Linked DNA regions of Homo sapiens: regions 2 and 3 are each linked to region 1. Evidence: promoter capture Hi-C in 16 types of primary human blood cells and fetal thymus (Javierre and others, 2016). All regions are on one chromosome and are shown on one strand. Each heading gives the region's core, a stretch centred on a gene start or on the middle of the fragment in contact. The rest is flanking DNA. Distances are from core to core; before and after follow the strand shown.

Region 1 (3,273 bases), core at 121-2,620:
ATTACAGGCGGTGAGCCACCGCGCCTGGCCAAGGGGATGCCTTTTAAAGCCCACTCAGACCAACTTAGGGTACACTCACCAATGGGGGGAGAGGCTATTTTTCAGTGTTTCCCAGAGCTCCTCTGAGGGTCTGCTTACACAGTTCCTGGACTTGCACTCAGTAGGCAAGGTGATAAGAATAGGGGTTGTCTTTGTTTACTGTATACCGCCCACGCTTGGCACACTGGGAGCTCTGTAAATATTTCTTGACTTATTCATTGAGAGAGTTCTGCCACCTGCCCTCATGCTTCCCTTTGATTTTTCCACGCCCAATCTGGCATTTACTAGCTCAACTAACATCTATTAAGGCCTCTCTTGCCTGGCACTGCCCCGCCCATAAGCTGAAAGAGAGCACAGGAAAGGCTAGCACATGCACAGACGACTAGGCCAGGGAAGACTGCAAGGGTTTGGGCCTGGTGGAGACTGGACGGCTTCCCGGTGGTGGGGCACCCGAATTGGTTCTGAAAGGAACCAAGCAGAGGTCACCAGCAAGAGCAAAGGTGCAGAGTTGTGAAACTGCCAAGCTATTAGCAGCTTGCAGTGACGGTCTTCCAGGGACTCTGGAAGGTCTTCCACCCTTTTCCGATTGGCTGCCCTTCCTGGTTCCTCCTCAAAGCCCGCCACCTCTTTGTCTCTCCCAGAGCATGCCGGGCTGCCAGTCAGGGTCCCTTGCTCTTTTGTGTGCCCCTACTCCTCCAGGTTTCTGTGTAGCAAGTCTCCTCGGCTCACCCACCCCGCGCGCCTCCACATACGCCTTTCCTCGACCCCTCACGAGCACACGCCCGTCCCGCGTGCCCGCTCCTCTCTGCCTCCCGCCCCGATCCTACGCTCCCCCTCCTCCCTGGACCCCGCCCCCTGGAGCGCGCCCGCTTCTCTCTGCCACGCTCCCCTTCTTTCATTCCCTCTCCTCTCTGCCCGTTGCCCCCTCGTGCGCGCTCTCCCTCCTGCACACCGCCTCATCTCTGCCGCAGGCCCGACTCCTGAACGCCCCCTCCTCTCTGGCCCCCTCCCCTGGCGCGCGCCCCCTTCCGCACGACCCCTTCTCTCTGCCGGGCGCCCCGCGCCTGCACGCCCCCTCCTCTCTGCCGCGCCCCCTCTACTCTGCGGCGGGCTCCTACTCCTGCACGCCCCCTCCACTCTGCCGCGCCCCCTCTACTCTGCCGCGCCCCCTCTACTCTGCCGCCTGCTCCTACTCCTGCACGCCCTCTCCTCTCTGCTGCGCGTTCCCCCTTCGCTGCCCACCGCGTGCCCTCTGCTCACCTATCCGCGCGCCCCTTCCGCTTTGCGGCGCCTACACTGGCTCCTGAGGCGCGAGCTCTCGTTGCCTGGCAACGGGACGCCGCTCCTGGGTGGCGAGCAGGCGCGTGTGTAGGGGTGAGCGCACCGGAAAGGCCCGAACTGTTTTTGGGATTTGTTCCCCTAGCTTCGCTGGGTCCGGCGGGCAGAGGCGGTTCTGACCGTTGGGCCTTGGGCGTCGAGCAGGACTCACCTGAGGCGGAGAGAGGCCGCTTCGCGCCTGGGGCTCCCGAAAGCGGCCAGCTGTCCTCCTGCTCCCCCTGAGCGGGGAGCGCTGCGTCTCCTGCGGGCTGCGGGAGACCCTTCCAGACTCCCGGGTGGGAAAACCACACTGAGCGCCCCGGGAGGTTGCCAGATACAATACTGTATCTGGCACCCCTGCCCGGGTGCCCCCGCCCAGTTGGCTGGCTGGCTGGCTAGCTGTCTCCCAGGTGTGGGTAAGGAATCTCCTTCCATCTCTGTGGCACCTTCTTCACGCTGGAGGCAGCTGTTTCTGTGGGAAAGGGCTTTCTTATGTTGAGCCAAGATGCCTATTGGTGTATGTGAAAAATAACATTGCTTACCACAGGAGAGATGGGTATTATCCTCGTTTCACAGACAGGAACATGCTAAGGGAGTTGGCAGGCCTTGCCTGGGTCCCACTGATATGCCCAGAAATCCGAGACAGAGCCTCCCCTGACCTGGCCCCGCTGGTAGGCCAGAAGTTTTCTCTTTAGGGATAATGGTCCCCTTCCTCCCTTCCCACATTTTATCCTTCTGGAGCAGCAACAGGAGTCTGTGCACCTTTTTTTTTTTTTTTTTTTAACTTCACTTCAAATGACTTTGAGATGTCTGTGTAGCGTTTTGGTCTTTCAGGTATATCCTACTGAAGAAATACAGTGAAGATACTGTGTTCCAAAGTCAGTTGTAATAATTCTTTTCTCTGTATGGTTGAGACACCAATATCAACCTCATTTGGAATTAGGTTCATTTGTGCCAGTTTGTTTTCCGTTTTTAGAGTTTTTATGACTATGTTTACATATACACACATACACATTCCTTTCCCCACTGCTGTTGCTAATACAAAAGATGACAGACCATATACAATTTCAGCACCTCGTTTTCTTTATTCTGTGTCTTAGAGATCACTCTCTAGTTTCTTCATTCTCTTGTACATCTGCATAATAATCCATTGTGTTGCTCTTATTAATCCCCAATTTGATGAACATTTAGATGGTGCTTCAGTGTGACTATTGTAAATAATGCTGCAAATAACTGTGTGCATATGCCATTTCATATTTTTGCAACTATATCTTTGAGATAGGATCCAAGAAGCAAGATTGATGAGTCAAAGGGTGAATGCATATGTGATTTTCTAGATGTTGTCAAATTCTCCTCCATAGGAGTTATACCATTTTGCCCTCCCACCACTGTCATATGGCATATGCACATAGTTATGGCATAAAATTTCAGAGACACTGACATCCTGGGGTTCATCCATAGAATAAAAATTGGGGGTTATGGACGGACCCCAGGATGTCACTGTCTCTGAAATTTTATGCAAAATGCTAGATGCATTTGTCCAGGGACAAGTTTAGACACAGTGGCATTCTATCCCCTGTAATTGCCATGCTCATTCCTATATCAGGGCCTTTCCTCATACCTAGAAGACTCTTCTCTTCTTTGTCGTGTTAATTTTACTGTTTTTTTTTTTCAGTAAATGTAAGCTTAGCTCAAATGTCACCCCCAAAGAAGCTTTTTTTTTACTTTCCTGACTTGATCAGCTACTCCTCTTGTCTGGTCTCATAGTACTTATTTTAACTGCAATTTCATATTTATTGATTTAAATATTTATCTTCCTTTCTCATCTATAAGCTCCATGAAGGCAGAGACTGTTTTTGTTTTAGTTTGCGCTGCTGTAGCAAATTACCAACACTGGGTGGCTTAAAAACAATACAC
Region 2 (3,077 bases), core at 37-2,536, 150 kb before region 1:
CCAAAGTGTTCCACATGAAAAGTTCTTAAGGAAGCTGGGCTTTCTGTCAGCACACAGATCAAACAAGAGCCTTGCATTGCACAGGCTGACATGGCCAAGGAGTGGGTTCCTCCCCAGGGGGCTGTGACAGCTATGGTCCAAGCGTCCAGGTGCAGCCACACATGAGAGAGATAAGAGGGATGGGGACCAGATGGAGTAAAGGCCATAGCCTGGAACTGCTTAGACAAACCCCTGGGCACATATTCCAGGGAGGTCACATTCCACTAGATCTGACAAAGCTTCCTCCAGGCAGCCCTGGCTTCTTAAACAGGAAGGGGAAAAGGTCCCAGGGAGGAAGGGGAAAAGGTCCCGGGGAGGAAGGGGATAGGAATAGCGTCAGATGGTGAGTCATGAGCCGGGGGGAAGAAGCTGTGCCTTACGGTATGCAGCGCCTAAGGAGGATTGCAGCTGGTATGGCTATTGGGCAGGATTGGAAAGATCTGGGGCCGAAAGAGGAGGGCCGGGCACGTGGGGGGTGGGTGGCCTCGGGTACAGCTGGACTTGCCTGCCCAATCCCAATGGGAAAGGGCTGGCCCACCAGGCAACCACAAGCCGGCAAAGTGGAACAGACCAGAGGTGGAGTGGCTTGTTCCACGGCCTCCCTGCTGTCTGCCAAGCTGCAGGCAGACAACCCACAGAGAAGGCCTGATGCCCCTGCTAGACTCAGCTCCAGGCAGCACAGGGAGGTGCATGCTCTATCGGGGGCCCGCTGGGGAGGTGCTTACAGCTTTCTGAAGGGAGTCGATGAGGTTTTGCAGATCGATATCGTCCCGGTAGGACTTGATGTTGCTCTCGAAGAACTCCCGGAACCGGTCCCTCACCCAGTCCTGGAACAGGAAGGCCAGCACGGCCACAGCCAGCTCCAGGAAGAAGATGAGCACGATGGTGCCACAGAACTGCAGGGGAAGGGGACGGGAGCAGAAGTCACCACCCCACCAGCCTGCACCCCCACACACATAACCCCACCTGACCCAGAACCACCATCCTCAGCAGAGCGTGGGCTCTGCACCTGAGAGTCCCACATCGGGGCCCCAGAACCCCACACTTAGAGTTAGCTGGGTGACTCTGCACAACTTCGCTTCATCTGTAAAAAGGGGCTATTTATCCCTACCCATGTCACTGCATTGCTGATAACACTCAAATGCGTGAAAAAGTGTGAGAAAGCTCCAAGCCAATGTGTCAATCACTTGCTATGAAGCAGCCCTCCTCCCTGGACAAGGAGGAGACCCCTATCACAGGAATGAATGGCTGTCCTACCCCAGCAGTTCCACCTGGACCCTCCAGGGTGGCATCCTGGGGTGTCGGCTCCTTTAGGACAGACACTGTGCCCAAGACATTATCTGATGACTCCCCACTACACACACAAAACCATCGAGTGCCTACGTATCTGTTACCTCACTTTAGGGATGAGGAAACTATGGCTATGTCACGAGGTACATAGCTTGCCTGAGGTCACATAGTTCATGCAGGACATGTGAGTTCCCTGCAGGGCTCTTTACAATTCTGGAAGTGCCAATGTTATCTGTACCAACTCTGCATGAAAGTATATGATCGTCAGCATAAAGACCCCTCCAGAAGCTCAGCTGCCCCAGGCCACAAGCAGTGGTGGCATTCTGCAAGGGGCCAGTGCAGCCACAGGTCCACATCCCATCAGGGCAGACTCCCAGCCTGCAGTCTGCGCTCTCACAGACATTATCACTGGCCATATAAGACACTAAGCAGCTTGCCACAACCGGCCAATTTGGAGTAATCTTTCAAAGTAAGAAAAAGCATACACACGGCCGGGCGCGGTGGTTCACGCCTGTAATCCCAGCACTTTGGGAGGCCGAGGCGAGAGGATCACAAGGTCAGGAGATGGAGACCATCCTGGCTAACACGGTGAAACCCCGTCTCTACTAAAAATACAAAAAAAAATTAGCCAGGCATGGTAGCGGGCGCCTGTAGTCCCAGCTACTCGGGAGGCTGAGGCAGGAGAATGGTGTGAACCCGGGAGGCGGAGCTTGCAGTTAGCCGAGATCACGCCACTGCACTCCAGCCTGGGCAACAGAGCGAGACTCGGTATCAAAAAAAAAAAAAAGAAAAGAAAAGAAAAAGGAAACACACATATGCACACAAGGCCTGCCAAAACGTAATCTCTGTTCATATAAAAGCAAGATGCTAAACATAGCTTTTCTTTTTTTTTTCCAGAGAAAAAATTAGGACAAAAAGCCCATAGTTTTGCTTTTAAAATTATGTCCAAGAAAAAGAAAGCTTGATCTAATGAAGTCAACAAACAATATACTGCAAAATATGATAATGTGTTTTCCCCACCAGGTGTTATTTAACTGAATAAATCTAAACATGAATTTGTATCTAAATATAAAACTAAACTCTTAGTAATCTGCAGTTCTGCCAGGAAATTTGGGATTCTGACTTGTACATCCAACAGACTCACACATCCTTGGAGGAGGGAAATGATTTAAGGTTACTTGCAACATCTTTTGATCTTAGCCAGGAAGGGCAAAGGACAGTAGCAGACAAACAATTCTTTTAGAATTTCTGAAGGAAGATAAAAGGCAAAGGAGCGGGGAGTAGAGCTGGCCTATAGGCAGCTGGCTCCTCCCACCCAGGGCTAAAAACCAGAGGGTACCTAATTCTCCTGCTGGGAGGAACCAGCTTCTCTAGACAGTAGAGTGCAAATGGCTGCCTCCTGCTCCCAGGCAGGGGCCTAGGGGAGGCTCCTAAGAGCTGCCACCTGCTCTGACCAGGTAACATATAATCCTGCCCAGCAGAGCCTGTACCCCATTGCATCCTATCCCACTCTTGTCTCTGTGGCCACTCACAAAGTTGAGCAAGCAGATATTCTCCCGCAGAGCCCCCACGCAGCCGGCGAACCCCAGGGTGAACATCACCACGCCCACCATCAGGACCAGCACCACAGGGTCGATTCCATGCATCCGGGTCACTTTGGTGAGGTCGGACAGCACACCCTGAAAGAGACAGAGAAAGCAGGGCAGCACTGGCCCAGAAGGGGAGTCAAGGATGCTGCCCTGGGGGAT
Region 3 (2,802 bases), core at 299-2,798, 220 kb after region 1:
AAAAAAAAAAAAGAAAGAAAGAAAGAAAGAAAATATACAATGCCTGGATTTCCTTTAAAATAATCCAGGGAGGGGAGAGAGGGTGGAGGCTATAGATGAGATAAAACTGCCCATGAACTGATACTTCTTGAAGCAGCGTTGATAAGTATATTACATGATTCTTTCACATACTATTACTTTGTATTTTTTTGTATCCAAAAGTTTTCATAATCAAAAGTTAAGATATATCATCTAAAATCTGAAAGATTATGCACAAAAATATATGAAATCAGTGTGAAATTACACTAATACATGAATACTTTCCTCCTTTCCTTCTTCTTTTTTTTTTTTTTTTGAAACTGAGTCTTGCTCTGTCACCCAGGCTGGATTGCGGTGGCTTGATCTCGGCTCACTGCAACCTCCGCCTCCCAGGTTCAAGTGATTCTCCTGCCTCAGCCTGCCGAGTAGCTGGGACTACAGGCATGTGCCACCACGCCCGATTAATTTTTTGTATTTTTAATAGAGACAGCATTTCACCATGTTAGCGAGGCTGGTCTTGATCTCCTGAGCTTGTGATCCGCCCGCCTGAGGGGTAGGTGAGGGGAAGAAAGCGGACAGTGAAAAGCAAGGAACCCAGCTAATGGAGTACCCAGACAGCCTCTCTCCTCCGCACAGCTCTCCACCTCCACCCAGTCCCCCATCTCCACCCAACATAGCTCAGTTTCCCAGAGAAGCTCCCTGGAAACCGGGAGGCTGACTTCTTCACTGACTGCAGATCCACCTGAGGCCACCTGGCAGGTGAATCGGTGGCCTTTCTCCTGGGCCCGACTGCCTGGTTCCTTAAGGCTGTGCTGGGCTAGCCTGGGTCACTCATCCTTTGGAGTGTGGCTTCTTATGCAATGTCCTATAAAGCCAGGCCTGAGCCTCCACAGGCCCTCTGAGATGGAGCTGGCCTCCGGGGCTGCCCCACCCAGCAGCTGTGACCTCCCACTCCAGATCCTGGCTCCTTCTCTCTTGCCAGCTCTACTCCGGGCATCGAGCTTCCCTCTCTCTCCTTTTTGGTCTCTCTCAAATCTTTCTCTTTTCTTCAATATCCTCTCTCCCTCCACCCCTTGCCATTTTAATCACTTTTTCTCTTTCCTTCTTCTCTTTTGTCTCTCAAACTCCTTTTTCTTTCTATCTTAGTTCATATCTGTTCAGGGGAAGCCTCTTTCTGTCTCAGCCTCTCCTTTTTCCTTTTCACTGTGTATTCTTCCCTATCTCCTTTATCTCTCCGTTGCTCTACTTCTCTGCCTTTTTCTGAGTCTGTTTCCTCTCAATCTTTCTCTCCATCCCTCCCTCCCTGCATCTGCCTCTCTGTCCATCTCGCTGCTGTGTCCAGCTCTCTCTCCGTCTCTCTCGCTCATTCCTTCCTCGCCATCTGCGGGTCTCCCCGGCTCCAGGTCCCCTGCCGCGCCCTGCGCCCCACTCACCGGCCAAAGAGCCCGCGGCGCGGAGCAGGGCCAGTCCGGTCAGCGCGCAGAGCAGGGGCCGCATGGTGCCGGCCTGGCCGAGCGCAGCGCCGCGTCTGCCCGCAGCCGCCCTTCCCGGATCGCACCCGGCCGGCCCGAGAGGAAATGCACTCAGTTCGAGCCAAAATTCCTGGGCGGCTCCGGACTTTCTGGCTCGAGAGAACCCGCCCCCTCCAGAGGCCCCTCGGCACCCCGTGGGCAGCGCGGAGCCCAGAGACCCCGGGAGCTGAGGCACCGACGTGCCACCTGGGCGCCTCCCGAGGAAGGGGCCGCCCCCCGAGTCCCCGCACCTCCTGGGAGCCCGGGAGGGAAGGCGGGGCGGGGGGCATTGGGTGAGGTCTTGGGCTCAAGGCGACCGAGCCTGGGGTCAGGGGTTTGTTACGAGCCAGTTTCACAGGCGGGCAGACTAAGACTCGGAGGGAAGTGTCTTCCTCGGCATCACTCTCAGCCATAGCACAGGATCTGAACCCCTGTCTCCTGGGAGTTTGGCAGCTTTTCTCTGTCTACCTACGAACAAGAAATTAATTCTAATTACATGGAACAGTGTCTGCCCCTAAGAGGGAGACCCAGAAACTCACTGCTCTGGTAAGGGAGTGATAGAAATATGAAAAGGTAATTTTAAAAAGAAAAGGTAAAATCGTAACTCTCGCAAAGATATGAAATTAGCATATACTAAAGATTTTATTCAATTCATTATTAATGAGGGGATAAGTAAGATGGTACAAGCAGCCCAAAGTTTAGAGCACAGTAGTGGAAACTTCCCCTATGGGACATGCCCATCCAACAAGTGCAACAACAAATTAAGTTTTAGTAAAAACACAAAGCAAAAAAGCTGTAGCTCTAACTTCTCTGCTGCAGAGCCCTGAGTGAGTGTCTCGTCTGGCTGTAAGTGGAACACATTCATCACCAAGCCTGGGAGAATGCCTTTGTCCATCAAGGGTCCCCGTTGGGATTACCTGGAGCTCTTGCAGATCAAGGCTGCCTCTCTGCCTTCTGTGTTCCTGGCTGTGGCTATGCAATTGTCCAAAACAGTTACCACGCTAACCAGTGATCCAGTTCTCACTCCCTCCTCCAGAGCAAGATAGTAGCCTCAGACGGAGAAATTCTGGTTCTGAGCCCGAGAATCTGAGACAGACTCAGATCTAAATCTTTTAAAAGCCTTCAAGGAGATTATGATGCCCACATGAGCTGGCTCAGAAGAAGAATTTATTTCAGGAATGCCAAAAATTTCTCACGCTTGGTGGTAGGACATTCCTTGATAGTTTCGCCAGGTGGGAAAAAAAGTTGTCAAAGAACTGCCCAACTCATAAGG

The links. Contacts are between HindIII fragments. The CHiCAGO score rates a contact against its expected background, and 5 or more counts as called.
Region 2: a contact is called between a fragment that was not itself captured here and the fragment with the promoter of DYDC1 in region 1, in 1 of 17 cell types (fetal thymus). The highest score is 8.2, in fetal thymus.
Region 3: the fragment with the promoter of PLAC9 here is called in contact with the fragment with the promoter of DYDC1 in region 1 in 9 of 17 cell types (fetal thymus, non-activated CD4 T cells, erythroblasts and 6 more); the score reaches 7.2 in fetal thymus.

The regions. Positions count from the first base shown.
Region 1 is chr10:80,354,852-80,358,124 of GRCh38, reverse strand. DYDC1 (DPY30 domain containing 1) reads left to right here and starts at 1,370. Exons shown (of 7, transcript NM_001269053.2): 1 at 1,370-1,413. It overlaps DYDC2 (DPY30 domain containing 2), which reads right to left and starts at 1,344. Exons shown (of 5, transcript NM_032372.6): 1 at 1,300-1,344; 2 at 80-232. The HindIII fragment of the contact is 3,945 bases long and covers 1-3,043 here.
Region 2 is chr10:80,507,159-80,510,235 of GRCh38, reverse strand. TSPAN14 (tetraspanin 14) reads right to left here. Exons shown (of 9, transcript NM_030927.4): 4 at 2,862-3,008; 5 at 765-935. Among named protein-coding and RNA genes, the nearest start is that of TSPAN14-AS1, 27 kb to the left of the region's middle. The HindIII fragment of the contact is 2,011 bases long and covers 281-2,291 here.
Region 3 is chr10:80,131,476-80,134,277 of GRCh38, reverse strand. It overlaps PLAC9 (placenta associated 9), which reads right to left and starts at 1,548. Exons shown (of 4, transcript NM_001012973.3): 1 at 1,452-1,548. The coding sequence starts at 1,515. The HindIII fragment of the contact is 6,415 bases long and covers 1-2,802 here.